Regions from separate parts of the Homo sapiens genome. Here regions 2, 3, 4 and 5 are each linked to region 1. Evidence: promoter capture Hi-C in 16 types of primary human blood cells and fetal thymus (Javierre and others, 2016). All regions are on one chromosome and are shown on one strand. Each heading gives the region's core, a stretch centred on a gene start or on the middle of the fragment in contact. The rest is flanking DNA. Distances are from core to core; before and after follow the strand shown. Region 1 holds the start of ANKMY2 (ankyrin repeat and MYND domain containing 2). Region 2 holds the start of LOC105375157 (a long non-coding RNA gene). Region 3 has its middle 5.6 kb from the start of ARL4A. Region 4 holds the start of TMEM106B (transmembrane protein 106B). Region 5 holds the start of POLR1F (RNA polymerase I subunit F).

Region 1 (2,849 bases), core at 43-2,542:
TGGATTAAGAGGCTAATCTAAGGCTATATATAGGCAGCAACACCAATTTAATCTCCGCCCTCTCCAACCTCCCCACCCTCCACTCCCTATTTCCATAAATCTCAAGATCTGAGTTACAAAGAGAACCGAGAACTCTAGCAGAGCAAAGAAGCCCTTCCTTCCCCCTCCCACAGGCTGTCTCTCATAAACGAAGTATTAGTGCAAGTGTAAATTGTTTCCAAACATCTTTAACAAGCAACATTGGGCGATCAGGTTTTCTTCTACAGCTTCCACAGAGGCCAAAGAGATGACAAGTAGTGGGGAGGGCGAGGATCACCAGCGTAAAAACTACCTTCTCCCGAGTCTGTTCTCACTGACTCGCTAGTAATGGGGCGCTGTCCTTGCGACCCCTACCTAGCCCAGAGCCCCGGCCCCAGCCTCCCCGGGAGCCGCATCTGGCGGTGCCACGCACGAGACCATGTGCACCCGCCACTTCCCACCGCGTGGCTGGCCCCCGCCCGCCCGCCCGCGGTCCCAGGGTCTCCCGAGGCGGCCAAACGTTGCGAGTCGGAGGTCTTCATCCCAGGGCACTGATACCCCGTACGCGCCGTGATGATGAGGTGGAGCGGGGGCTTCTCCACCGCGAGGCAGGAAGCCGCCCCAGGAGGCACATGCTTCCTCCCCGCCAGCTCCTGCCCGATGGAAACCCCGGCGGGGCGGCAGTCGCTACTCTCGCAACCCTCACGGCGCCCCTTGCCTCACCTGGGCTGCTTCTCACCTGTCCGAGGAGGTAGCGACGACGCGCAAGGCTGGGGGCTGCGGCGATTCGTGCAGCAGCAGCGGCAGCAGCAGCAGCAGCAGCAGTGGCGGCAGACAATGGAGGAGTGAAGGACAGACACATTGACATAGACACACGGAACCCGGCGCAGCCCCGCCTCCCGTACCGCCCCCGTCTCCTAGACCGCCCCCGCCCAGACTGCGCCACTCCCGGGGGAATGGTGGGGGTACGGCGACAACCTGGGGCCTCTGCATGCCCCAGAAAGCCGTCGCTGAGCACATAACTGCCAGCTGTAGAATTTTCAATATTACATGTGGCGAAATATTTGAACCGGACAGGATAGGGGAGCGGAACGTGTAGGAGGAATTTAATTCCCCCCTCCAGCTTTCTGCATTTGGTTTTGTCCTCCCAGGTTGCTCCAATGGCGATCTCTCGCTACCGCCTCCTGCGGCTCCTCCTCCTCGGCAGGGCCAATGACAGGCGGCAGGCGGTGACCGCCGCAGGGCCTGCGGAGACCGTCCGCCTGGCTCGCCCGAGCTCGCCCGCTGTCCGCCAGCCCGCGGGAGGGAGGAGAGAAGCGAAGCGTTTCCGCGGTTGGCTACTCAGTGTCTTGGTCTCAAGTTGCCTCATTGCGGCTGGCGTTCCCAATACAGACGCATCGTTTCTTTTTTAATACTCCCTAAGAAAGGGAATAACCTTCAAGCTGGCGGGAGCAATGGTTCACATAAAGAAAGGCGAGCTGACCCAGGAGGAGAAGGAGCTACTGGAAGTCATCGGGAAAGGTACGGGTGCTGGGCTGCGACGCGGCCGCGGCCAGCCTGGCCGGGGGGCGTGGCGGAGCCCGGGGGGCGCTCCTGGCCTGGGTGACCTTTGGCTGCGGTTCTGCAAGGTTTGCAGCCTGGAACCGGGAAAGAGCGTTTCTCCCTTTGGTCTGGGAAAGGTTGCAGGGGCGGAGAGGTGGGGAGGCAGAAGCAGTGCTGGGACAAGAGGGGTAGTTACAGAGGCTCGGCCTCTAAATCCGCTTTTGGAAACGTACGGATTTCCACGCCCCGCCTTAGGTTAATGCGAGCTTCCCGGGGTGTGGACCCCAGTGTGTGAATTCTTCACTGCTCCCGAGGGATTTTGACCGCGGTCAGTCCTGGTAGTTTCAGGTTCTTAGGCGGGTGTCTAAATGACCCTTTAGACTTCCGCAGGCCGAATGATCTGGATCCTTTGCCGATCCCCGCCCCCGCTTGGGAGTGGAGGGCGCCCTTAGGGAGAGGGGTTCTTCATAAGGGTACAGAACTAGGTCTGTAATTTGCTGCATTGAGACTTCCGTATCCAGGGCCTCCCTGGCTTCCAGAAGCCCCGACAGCCTCAGGAACCCTAGAGAGACAAGGAAATTGGCGAGGCCTCCACACCCACCCCTCGGCCCACGTTGCACAGATGAGACCTTCTAATCGCGCTCCTTCGCGCTTTCTTGTCCACTCCCCCAAGGCGTGCCCCACTTCCGCAGTGCTGAGTCCCAGCGGGGAGCCCCGAGGACGAGCCAGAAGCCATATTTCCCCGGAGTCCCCGAGTGGACGTCCCAGAGGAGTTCCCTGCCGAGTCCCGTTACCTGGCAGGTGACATCAGCGTGACTGCATGCTTCTTCTGCACCCTCACGGTGCAGGGATGGTGATGCGTGCGACTCCGGGCAATTAATGTGGTGATTTTAAACTCAATAATAATATAGCCATGTTTGTCCTCGAATGGCAGAGATGCCAGTCATTGCAGCATAAGGCTTCCCAGTTTCCAGTTTTATTTACTTAGTAGCCAGGCTGAAATGTGGAATCCTAGAGAATAAGGCAGATTTATTCTTCATAGCGACAAGGAAACTCCACATGCGAAGGAGAAAAAATTCCGGTTTGAACTCAACAGGTGCTGATGAGCTGAGCCCACCCGATCTGATCTCAACTATTCTAAGTCAGTCACAGCTATATCTATCAATGATGTGTTCTTTGCCTGGAATTTGGGGATTTGGGTTAGAGTTTAGATTGTTGTACTGCATGGTTCTTGCTGACCTATTTGGCATTTCAGTCTTTCAGTTCTTCCTGTCTCTAGGTAATTTCTC
Region 2 (2,792 bases), core at 182-2,681, 4.0 Mb after region 1:
TCTGTGTCTTTTAATTGGAGCATTTAGCCCATTTACATTTAAGGTTAATATTGTTATGTGTGAATTTGATCCTGTCATTATGATGTTAGCTGGTTATTTTGCTCGTTCGTTAATGCAGTTTCTTCCTAGCATCGATGGTCTTTACAATTTGGCATGTTTTTGCAGTGGCTGGTACTGGTTTTTCCTTTCCATGTTCAGTGCTTCCTTCAGGAGCTCTTGTAAGGCAGGCCTGGTGGTGACAAAATCTCTCAGCATTTGCTTGTCTGTAAAGGATTTTATTTCTCCTTCACTTATGAAGATTAGTTGGGCTGGATATGAAATTCTGGGTTGAAAATTCTTTTTTTTTTAAGAATGTTGAATATTGGCCCTCACTCTCTTCTGGCTTGTAGGGATTCTGCCAAGAGATCTGCTGTTAGTCTGACGGGCTTCCCTTTGTGGGTAACCTGACCTTTCTCTCTGGCTGCCCTTAACATTTTTTCCTTCATTTCAACCTTGGTGAATCTGACAGTTATGTGTCTTGGGGTTGCTCTTCTAGAGGAGTATCTTTGCAGTGTTCTCTGTATTTCCTGAATTTGAATGTTGGCCTGCCTTGCTAGGTTGGGGAAGTTCTCCTGGATAATATCCTGAAGAGTATTTTCCAACTTGGTTCCATTCTCCACATCATTTTCAGGTACATCAATCAAATGTAGATTTGGTCTTTTCACATAGTCCCATATTTCTTGGAGGCTTTGTTCATTTCTTTTTATTCCTTTTCTGTAAACTTCTCTTCTCGCTTTATTTCATTAATTTGATCTGCAATCACTGATACCCTTTCTTCCACTTGATCAAATCAGCTATTGAAGCTTGTGCACGCGTCACATAGTTCTCATGCCATGGTTTTCAGCTCCATCAGGTCATTTAAGGTCTTCTCTACACTGTTTATTCTAGTTAGCCATTCATCTAATCTTTTTTTCAAGGTTTTTAACTTCCTTGCGATGGGTTCGAACATCCTCCTTTAGCTCGGAGAAGTTTGTTATACCGACCTTCTGAAGCCTACTTCTGTCAGCTCGTCAATCTCAGACTGCTGCGCTAGGAGTGAGCAAGGCTACATGGGTGTGGGACCTGCTGAGCCAGGTGCAGAATATAATCTCCTGGTGTGCCATTTGCTAAGACCAATAGAAAAGCACAGTATTAGGGTGGGAGTGTCCTGATTTTCCAGGTACATGGCTTCCCTTGCCTAGGAAAGGGAAATCCCCTGATCCCTTGTGCTTCCCGGGTGAGGTGACACCCCACCCTGCTTTGGCTCACCCTCCGTGGGCTGCACCCACTGTCCAACCACCAATGAGATGAATCAGGTACCGCAGTTGGAAATGCAGAAATCACCTGTCTTCTACGTCATTCACACTGGGAGCTGCAGACTGGAGCTGTTCCTGTTCGGCCATCTTGGAATGGAATCTGGAGATCTTTTTATCATTGAGCATAAGGTTCTAGAAGCTGGATTTTACAATTTTCCACTCAGATCTACTTAATCAGATTATCTCAAGGTAAGGTCTTTAGAAACTAATAGAACAAGAAGTAACTGGAAATCACTGACTGAAGCTGTCAGAAGTTGGTGCAGGATAAATTTCAAGTCACTGATAAGATGGAATGTAGGTGATAATACTAAAGAAGACAGAAGACGGAAACTTGGAGAAAAGCCTATATTTTCAGGTTCACAGAATTTTTAAAAACCAGATTGCTTTGTACAATTCTTTAATTGTTGGGAGGGAGTCAGAAGAGATGGTGCCAGGTACAGGTGCGTTTACTCTGGCAGGGGAGACTGCTTCTCTACTATGCTTACAATCCAGGCCAGTATGAATCCATATTGTGATCTTTGTCTACAGAACTAAAAGAGGGCTTGGACAGAGGTGGAGGAAGAAGGAGTTGCAACTGCTCAGCTGTATTGACAGCAGGACTGTATGTAGGTCTTACTTTCACTTGTAGTGAATGTAGGTCATCCCTAGCACAGAAGGTTGTGTTGCGAAAAGCAAAACAAGCTTTCAGGGAAGATTCAAGATAGGAGTGGTAAGTGCGCCCTCTTTAGGTTGTGCAGGATCAAAGGAAGAATCAAACAGGACTGCAGATCTCATAGTTTCTACCACTAGTTCCAAACCGGGCAATTGATAAGCGTTTAGAAAAGATTTATAGAATGAATAAATGAGCAAATTAAGTGTGCCTTAGAATCTTTGTGCCTCATTTTTCTTACTGGGTTGTTCTGGGGAGAATGAATGAAGTTGCTGTAGCTGTAATATGAATAATTGTTAGATAAAATAGTACTTTATTGATATATGATTACTTTTACTTTTTAGGTTTCTGAAGATCACAGAACTTAACTAAAACAACATATTTGTCATAAGCAATTAAGATTTAAGCATTACTCTAGACTACGGAATTCTTTTTGGTGTAAAGCAGGTAAACTGAGCAATGATGCAGCATAGTTTCTGATCTAGTGAAGAGAAAGATAAAATCGCTGGCTATCTGCAAGTAATTTAATGACCAAACTGAGATCTAAATTTGACATTTGAAAAAAAAATTAGAATTTCTCTAAAAACCAACATATGTTAAATAAATGAATGCAAGGCAGTTAGTTTACAGGGTTTTTTTTTTAGTTTCTCGCATTTATCAATTATCCTCAAAACTGTCCTCTAGGGAAAGCAAGATCTGTGCGATTTACCATTATTTTATAAATGAGGAAACTGAGGCTTAGTTAGGTTAAGAGATTTACTTGCTGAAGATTACTAAACTAGTAATTTTTGGATCTGTAACTTGGCTTA
Region 3 (2,854 bases), core at 147-2,646, 4.0 Mb after region 1:
CAAAGCAAGTAAGAGATTTTGTGAAACAAATATATCTAAAACATAATCCCACATAAAATAACAATTCCAAGTGACCTTAAAATACAAGAATTTACCTCCAGTGAGATATACCTAAAGGACAAAGGTAACTACAACATTCTTAAACCACTACCAGTCATCAAATTATTGACAGTAGTATTGCATTGAGATTAAAGTGGAATAAAGCAAATAAACAACTGTGTGTTGCTCATAACTAATATTTTTGGCATGAGTGAAAAGAGATAATAATATCACTGAAACTAAATAAATGCCTTATCATTCTGAATGTAAATCTTTGAATTGGAACTATCACTGTGAATTAATAATGTATCTAATCTTAAAAAAATAGAGTTCTAGTACTATCCACTGAAAAGGCCTAGAAACAATGACAAATCCAGTAATAGACTGTGGACTCTAAATACCATTTCCTAATACAAGGAACCTGGCATCCTAGAAAAACAGATCTGGGACAGGAAATGTACAGGTTAAGGGACTTTGTGTTAAATGAGAAATCAAAAAAGCCATCAAAAACTACTAGGGTTCTGTGAAAAAGACTCAGTTCTCTCTAAAGATGAGACAATTTATGCATAAATGGGAATAATAAGCTGCAAGAGATAGAAATATATCAATATATCAAATATATATATATTTTTTGAAATGGAGTTTCGCTCTTGTCACCCAGGCTAGAGGGCAATGGCGCAATTTTGGCTCACTGCAACCTCCGCCTTCTGGGTTCAAGCAATTCTCCTGCCTCAGCCTCCCGAGTAGCTGGGACTCCAGGCATGCACCACCACGCCCAGCTAATTTTCTGTATTCTCACGCCTGTAATCCCAGCACTTTGAGAGGCCGAGTTGGGAGGTTCACGAGGTTAGGAGTTCGAGACCAGCCTGGCCAACATGGTGAAACCTCGTATCTACTAAAAACACAAAAATTAGCCCTGCATGGTGGCAAGTGTCTGTAATCCTAGATACTGGGGAGACTGAGGCAAGAGAATGGCATGAACCCAGGAGACTGAGGTTGCAGTTAACTGAGATCATGCCATTGCACTCCAGCTTGGGTGAAAAGAGCAAGACTCTGTCTCAAATAATAATAATAATAGAAATCTAAACACTGGATGGATATTTGGTTATTTTGAAGAAGCATATTTTTTTTACATGTGAGTGAAATTTTTTTAAGTGATTATCTTTTAGACACATATACCACTATTTATAAATGAAATGTAATTTCCAGAACTCACTTCAAAATAATCTAGAAGTGGAGGAAAAAGGAAGGTGGCATGGAAGGAAGTGAATGGAAGTATAGAGGAAACCAGATTGGCCCTGAGTTGATAATTAATGAAACTAGATGACAGATACTTGGGTGTTTGTTATATTATTCTACTTCTGTATAAGATTGAAATCTGTCATAACAAAAAGTTAAGATTTTATCTAAAGGTAGACCTTCACTGAAATGAATCAACTTCAACATCTCTCTTCAACCACTAATACAGGTAATCTCCACTTCAGTGCAACATAAACAGGAGACATAAAACAAGACCAAAGACTGAAAGTAACTGGAAAATAACACAGCACACATAATCACCCACAAACACAACCACCATCATCAACCAGATGTGCCCACAGATACTGCAAATTTGATCTTATCATTCGATCAAATTTGTGAATTATAGATAACAATCTTGAGGCATTTTGAAGAACCATAATATATAGTTTCAAATTTTAATGTCTGAAAAGTGAGGTATTGTATTTTGATATATGCCTACACCAGAAAATAACCGAGATTTTAAATTAAATTTTATCTCTTACAGGGAAAGGTAAGATAATATTGTGTTACAATAAATTGGTACTTTAGAAACCTAAGTACCATATGATCCCTTGAAATGATCCATATTTCAAGGGAGTTCAGCATATTTAGACTTTCACTAAGTTCCACCAAGTTGCCATTTTGTGACATGTATGAGCTCACTATGTTATATTCCCCTGCCAAAACAAGTATTTTCTTTAAATACGTTGATCATAAGGTATTCTGGCTATTAATAACTATCAATTGAATGCTTACTAAAGTGTCAGTTACTCTGCTAAATATCATTGCTTGATTTAATCCTTTTAATCAGTTATACCCCAGTGGTAGATATATATAACCCACACTTTACAAATTAAGAAACTAAGGCTGCAAGTAAATTGCCCCAGATGAAATAATAAACATATTGATTCCTACTGGTTAACAATAGTAGGTCAGTTTTTATCAAATGCTTGGCAATATGTGAAAGTTTGTACATGTTATTTCAACACTCTCAAAATTCTATGAAACAGTCTTCATTTAACCAGGAGGGCATTCTCATCATAAGTTTCAAGGAATTTGCTAAAGGTTCATGTGTAATAACGGGAGAGCCAGGATTTGAACACTGATCTGACTCCAAAGCTCATGTTTTTAGCCAGTACATTTAACATCCTCCTAAACTAGCTTCCTGTACAGGTATTCCCATATTTTTAATGTGCATGCACAGAATTGAATACATACTCTGGCTATGGTTTGTTGAGACTATTACTTCTGATCTTCATAGATTTTAATATTAACATTATGATTTTACATTTCCAGAATGTTCCGCCAAATTTAAACCTTAAAGGTAAAATTCCAGCTTCAAATGATGGTGTACTCAAGATTCTCAATTGCATCAGCTGAATGCTGAGTTTTTACATCATATAAAGTTTGATAAAACTTTTTTTGCATCTTTATTATCGCTGATGAAATCATTGTTTACATTACAGAGGAAATTGTTGTATTAAATAGAATCTTGAAAAACCAAAGATTTCCTTCAAGGTCACCATGAATTATT
Region 4 (2,729 bases), core at 171-2,670, 4.4 Mb after region 1:
ACTAAGGGCTCTGACTTCACCAGGATGTTGTGTATCAATGTAGCAAATGGCACTTGTACTCCATGAATATACACAAAATAAATACAAAGATAAAAAAATAAATAAAATTCGCATGCCATCCACTTGTTGCTGTCACTCAAATAAACAGAATTTAAAAAACTATACAAATGGTATGCAAACAAATGTAAAATGAGATTTTCACTCTTTCAAAAAAAAAAAACTATGTATTTATAAAAATCACTGCCCACATCAAAAATACAAATGATTTATGACTTCTAAAAAATCATTGTCTTAATCAACACCTGTCAGCCACAGGTAGGATAGGGAAGACTTAACATCACTGTCCCCACACACTGTAACCTTGGGGTCTATGCGGAACACTAGATGAATTGGGATCATTGGGCCTTATCAGCAAGGCCTTAAGGGCACTCTTTCTGGGATCTCAGTCAACACAGCCAGGCTGTAAGCTGCATCTTAACTGGAGCGCGTTGAGAAAAAAGACACAGAAAGGCAGACTCAAGTGGCTCTCCGTTTGAGCCTGTTTTCTGTCCTAATCTAATAGCTGCCATGATCGATTCTGCTTTAGGGTAGGTGTTTGGACAAGTGCCAGACTCTGTGAGAAACTGGGAATCCCTTGCCTTCTCTACTAGATTTTCCTTAGAGAACTGACAAGTGTAACCACTTTTATTCTTGGGAGACTCAATGGTTTAAAAAAGGGGTGCTAGACCCTCTTCTGCAACCTCTGTGGGCTCAGTGTTATTTATTATAGCGGTTCCTTAGTTTACTGAAAGTCAACATGGATATCAGACTCAGTTTGGAGAGAAAAAATATATCACAGCACTCCAATTTAAATGGCTCCTGATCTTCTGTGTAGACACTGGTTTTAGTTCTAAAAGGGCTTGAGAACTAAGGAAACAAGCGCCTTTGAAAAGCTCCATAAACAACACCTAGCACAAAGCCTACTCTGTAAAGCTGCAAAATAAGATCCCGGCACCACGGCAAGAACATTCATCAACAGCAAAAGGAAGAGGGCCACCTGGCGCTCAAGGTGTGAGGGCCTAGAGGCAACCCAGAGGTAGGGCTTGGGCCGAAGCCGAGTGTTCCCTGGCTGGGCCTCATTAGAGGCGACACAGCAACTCGATCACCAGCCCTGACCGCCGCCGTACCTGCGGCTGGCCCAGCACCCCAGCGGCCTCCCCTCCTTGTCAGGCCCGGCTCAAGCCGCGGCGCAGCCGCTCAGCCTCGCTCCGGAAGGGGACCTGGGGACTGCACGTCCGGGGTCGCTCACCGGCACGCGGGGCGCTGCGCAGTCCCGGGCTGCTTCGGCGCGGACAGGGCCGAGGACAGGGTCGTGGAGTCCACAGTCCCGGGAGCCGGGGGGTGGAGCGACCGGCCTGGAGCGCGCGGCCGCCGTAGAGCTGGGACGGGGGAGGGGTAGGATAACGACGGCATCAGCAGAGGCCAAGCGCTGCTGTAACCTGCGTCCGCGCCTGCGCAGAGCGCTCCCGGAGGGACACCCCTGGCGTGCGCGTGACGCATGCGTCCTTCTTCCTCCTGTTTGAGCCCAGAGGCGTCGATCGTGTGAGATTGTGCGCTCTTCAGGTTTCATTACCTTCGCGTCCCCCAGACTTCAAAGTGTCCACTGTAGCCACGAATTACCTAGGAACAGTCGCTCCTCCTATTTCCCATATCAGACCATTTCCTTTTGCAAAGGGTATAAATGTGCACCATCTGCCTCAGCTTTCAGCTGAGCAGCCTCCTCGCTCACGCAATGCGAGTTGTCGCTGACAGTCTGGTCCTTAGGAATGGAATAAACTGGTCCGTACACACGCCGCTGACAGCAGCAAAGCTACCTCTATTTTAATTTAGAAACTGGCCAACTAGAAGGAGACAGCAAGCGGCAAGGCCGTAGTTTTTGTTTTTGCTCGGTTTCGTTTCGCTTTGCCCACGCTGCCCCTCCCCACCCCTTAACTCTGGTGCTAGTTACAGGTGTGTGAAATCCCGTCTCGGATCCCAGTACTTAAGCTCTTCGCTGTGGGTTGGGGCTGCCCTCCCCCAACGTCTAGGTCATTTCACTTAGAAGATAAGAACAACGACAAGGAGTCGTTTTGAGGGATCAATGAGATGCCGGTAATAATATTAAGGGCACTCTAGTCTCATTCCTGCGGAGAGTTTAACGTTTAATGAATGGTAGGCATTCTTACAGTCACAGGAGCAAGGAAGTGAGAGTCATATATTTCTCTCTTCTAACAGGATCAGTGTGATCCTGTTAGAATCAGGGAATTCTAACAGGAATTGGGAAATGAAGCTATGTAAAAGTAGGAAATACAAGTCAGAACGATATACAATTTAAGAGGATTACTGTAGATCCATATGTGAGATAATGAGCTTTCTCATACAATGTTGTCGGAGATTTAAAACTCCTAAGTTTTCTGGCAGACAGTCAGTATGTATCAAGACTATTAAAATGTTCACATCGTTTGGTCCAGCAATTCCACCCTTTCAGAAGTATCCTAAACCTAATGAGAACTCTAAAAAGATTTGGGTATGAGGTGTATCCATTTAAATAAACTGAATGTCCAACAAGGGACATTGATAAAATCATTATTTTTCAACCGCTTTTATTTAGCCCATATTTTCCAAAGGGAAGGGTCAGGGTGTCTTCCATTAACACTGTTTGAAATTTCAAAATTAATAGGTTGGTTAAAACAAATCAGAATCATGGGGGA
Region 5 (2,703 bases), core at 59-2,558, 3.1 Mb before region 1:
GCTCTTTATCACTTATTATTTATTAACTCACTATCAGGTTATTCATTCAAGATGTATTGGTTGGGTTTTTCTTGGTTTCGTTTCTTTGGAGGAGGGATAAATTGTGGGGGGCTACTGTAGTGAACAATACAGATATTATGGTCCCCACTTTAGTGAGTGTAGGAATCTATTGATGGAACAGGCAAGCAAAGACAGTTAATAAAAAATTAACATAAAAACCAACATAGATGGGTAACTACCTAATCCTTATAGAGAAAGAGGAGTGGGGTGCTTGAAAACTCTTTGCAAAGGTATAGAATGTAAAATCTAAGCTAGAAATTCATACATGAGTAGAATTTACCCTTGTGAAAAATGCTATTATATTCCCTGGTGGAAGGAACAGCGTGAGACTGCACAAAGAGAGACCTGAAAGTAGATCAAGCAGCATGATAATATTAGGGTGGGGAGTGTGACAAATGAAGCTGAAGAGAGAGGCTGTGTGCCCACGCAGATCACAAAATGGCCTTGTAACTTATAAGCCATTTTCATGAGTTTGTGTTGTCCTAGAGAAAATGGGGTGCCTATGTAGGGCTTAAACAGGGCACAACACGATCATATGTATTTCAGGGAAGATCTGGCTGCCCCAGAGTGTCCTCCTGACCATTGAGCTAGGCTTCCACAGGCAGGGAGTCCTGCGGTTTTGGCGGCAGGGAAAGAGAATAGTGTCCAAATAGAATGATATTTCCACTTTGGGCAATACAGGTCTTCAGGCTGATTTGATACTTGGGGATACAAAAGAGGATCCGAGGCTGACAGCTTGGCTGTATGATTCCCTGATTTAGCAGTTGCATAATGAGAAGAGAAGCGGGACAGGAGAGAACTAGTGGGTTCGTTTTCAGATGCGTTGCATTACAATTATCAGGCCTGCTTAGGATTCCGTGTACTGCATAAAATATACTCCATAAATATTTTGATTTTTTATTGTACAGTCCAAGCCTGTAAAATTCTACCAAACCCACCTCACTACTGGAAATGATCAAAGTGAGAACCCCCATTTTTAAGCTACCTACTTAATCCAATAAGCCTCTGTGCGAAAACACACATTTGCCTGCCCTTAAAAGAGCAGTCGGTTGGCTTTCCTGCGTGCTCAATGCATTTCCGAGGCTCTAAGCTCCCGTTCTCGAAGCGCGAAAACGCGGTTCCCCCTGCTGGTCAGGGCTGCGTAATGCAGCGAAAAGAGGGGAAATTCCTAGGGGCGTGGTCGTTGGTGGATGGCGTAAAACGAGCGCCGGGGACATGGGATTGTGCTTGCGTCAACGGCGCGCGCCGTGGGAACCTTGACAAGCAGCATGGCTGCAGGTTGCTCAGAGGCGCCGCGGCCAGCGGCGGCTTCTGATGGGTCTCTGGTAGGGCAGGCTGGCGTCCTGCCTTGCCTAGAGTTGCCGACTTATGCCGCTGCTTGTGCGCTGGTGAACAGTCGCTACTCATGCCTGGTGGCCGGGCCGCACCAAAGGCACATCGCGCTGTCGCCCCGCTACCTTAACAGGAAACGCACCGGCATTCGAGAACAGCTTGATGCGGAGCTCCTTCGCTATTCTGAGAGGTACCGATCTCTTTGCCTGTTCCTTCTTTTGTGCACGGGAAGTAAAGCAGGTGGATGTGCTGACGACGCAGCAGAAAGGGGCAAATGGCAAAGGTCGCATTGCCCCCCAGAGCTTAGCCCCCTGGATTTCTAGAGTCGCGATCCGTCCCTCAAGGCCAGTACCGCTCTGGTAAAGATCTATACAGGGTCCCTTTCATAGATAGAGAAGAAAACTTAAAGATGAAGTTCAGGTGTGGGCGGAGGGAGTGGAGATTCTTGCTCCAGAACCCTGGTGTAGGGGTAGGAAAAGACCAGGGATCTGGAGACCTAGTAGGCCCAGTTCTGTTTGGCATTCAACGTTTCATTTATCCCCTTACGGATGATGCTTTCTCATTTGACGATAAAAATCTGGTTTGCAGTGCTTGAGTAGATTCTCATTCCATAGAAGATAGCATACGAAGCATTAGTACAACCGTTCTATTTGTAAAACATGAAGGACCTTTTTTGTTGTTGGATTTCGCTCTGGTAATTTCCCCATTTTCTCTTCTCTTGGACCTGATCTGGGGATTATGAAAATGCCATTAGTTTAGCGGGATTTTGTTGTTTTTAAGAAGATTTATTCAGTCGAACTAGTGAGCCTGTTGCTTTGGGGAGAGAAAAAACCAAAACGTATGCATTTATATTACGGTATTCAAAAGTGACTTGAAAACTTAGAATTACAGAGGTGTGGGGCGGGGGGCGCGGGCATGTGCTTGAGTATTCCTCTGGACTATACTTTGGTTTAAAAGCGGGGTTCTAAAACTAGAGGGAATGGATTCTCTAGGGATTCATGATTGCCCTTCAGGAATTCCTATGTGAAGTTCCTTGGGCACTGCATCGGAAGTTTTTATCAGTTTCTTAAGGGATCCTGGACCTCCACCCATGTCTAGAATCTGCAGATTCTTCCAAGCACCAATATACACTTCTTGTATGTTTATATTACATACCGAACACTTGAGATACAAAAACAAAAAATAAAATCTCTGTTTCAAGGAGCTTTAAGCTGTAGGAGAGATACAAATACAAGCCAATAAATAGTAAAGTGTTAAAATTTGACAGAAATCTAATAAGATAAGGAGTGTAGAATTTGGATCTTGGGACCT

What was found. Contacts are between HindIII fragments. The CHiCAGO score rates a contact against its expected background, and 5 or more counts as called.
Region 2: a contact is called between a fragment that was not itself captured here and the fragment with the promoter of ANKMY2 in region 1, in 1 of 17 cell types (naive CD8 T cells). The highest score is 6.4, in naive CD8 T cells.
Region 3: a fragment that was not itself captured here is called in contact with the fragment with the promoter of ANKMY2 in region 1 in 2 of 17 cell types (non-activated CD4 T cells and total CD4 T cells); the score reaches 6.3 in non-activated CD4 T cells.
Region 4: a contact is called between the fragment with the promoter of TMEM106B here and the fragment with the promoter of ANKMY2 in region 1, in 3 of 17 cell types (naive CD8 T cells, activated CD4 T cells and naive CD4 T cells). The highest score is 8.0, in naive CD8 T cells.
Region 5: a contact is called between the fragment with the promoter of POLR1F here and the fragment with the promoter of ANKMY2 in region 1, in 1 of 17 cell types (non-activated CD4 T cells). The highest score is 5.5, in non-activated CD4 T cells.

Annotation. Positions count from the first base shown.
Region 1 is chr7:16,644,197-16,647,045 of GRCh38, reverse strand. It overlaps ANKMY2 (ankyrin repeat and MYND domain containing 2), which reads left to right and starts at 1,292. Exons shown (of 10, transcript NM_020319.3): 1 at 1,292-1,539. The coding sequence starts at 1,473. It overlaps BZW2 (basic leucine zipper and W2 domains 2), which reads right to left and starts at 865. Exons shown (of 12, transcript NM_014038.3): 1 at 758-865. RefSeq lists an enhancer at 886-1,165. The HindIII fragment of the contact is 5,140 bases long and covers 1-2,849 here.
Region 2 is chr7:12,674,307-12,677,098 of GRCh38, reverse strand. LOC105375157 (a long non-coding RNA gene) reads left to right here and starts at 1,509. Exons shown (of 3, transcript XR_927043.2): 1 at 1,509-1,689; 2 at 2,328-2,430. RefSeq lists an enhancer at 816-2,015. The HindIII fragment of the contact is 1,173 bases long and covers 845-2,017 here.
Region 3 is chr7:12,691,798-12,694,651 of GRCh38, reverse strand. No RefSeq gene overlaps it. Among named protein-coding and RNA genes, the nearest start is that of ARL4A, 5.6 kb to the right of the region's middle. The HindIII fragment of the contact is 4,891 bases long and covers 1-2,854 here.
Region 4 is chr7:12,209,985-12,212,713 of GRCh38, reverse strand. TMEM106B (transmembrane protein 106B) reads right to left here and starts at 1,420. Exons shown (of 8, transcript NM_001134232.2): 1 at 1,289-1,420. RefSeq lists enhancers at 703-1,219, 1,612-1,661, 1,220-1,738, 1,872-2,021 and a silencer at 1,122-1,431. The HindIII fragment of the contact is 6,470 bases long and covers 1-2,729 here.
Region 5 is chr7:19,707,642-19,710,344 of GRCh38, reverse strand. It overlaps POLR1F (RNA polymerase I subunit F), which reads left to right and starts at 1,308. Exons shown (of 4, transcript NM_001002926.2): 1 at 1,308-1,582. The coding sequence starts at 1,329. RefSeq lists enhancers at 1,156-1,435, 977-1,579, 1,546-1,615, 1,580-2,184. The HindIII fragment of the contact is 8,345 bases long and covers 1-2,703 here.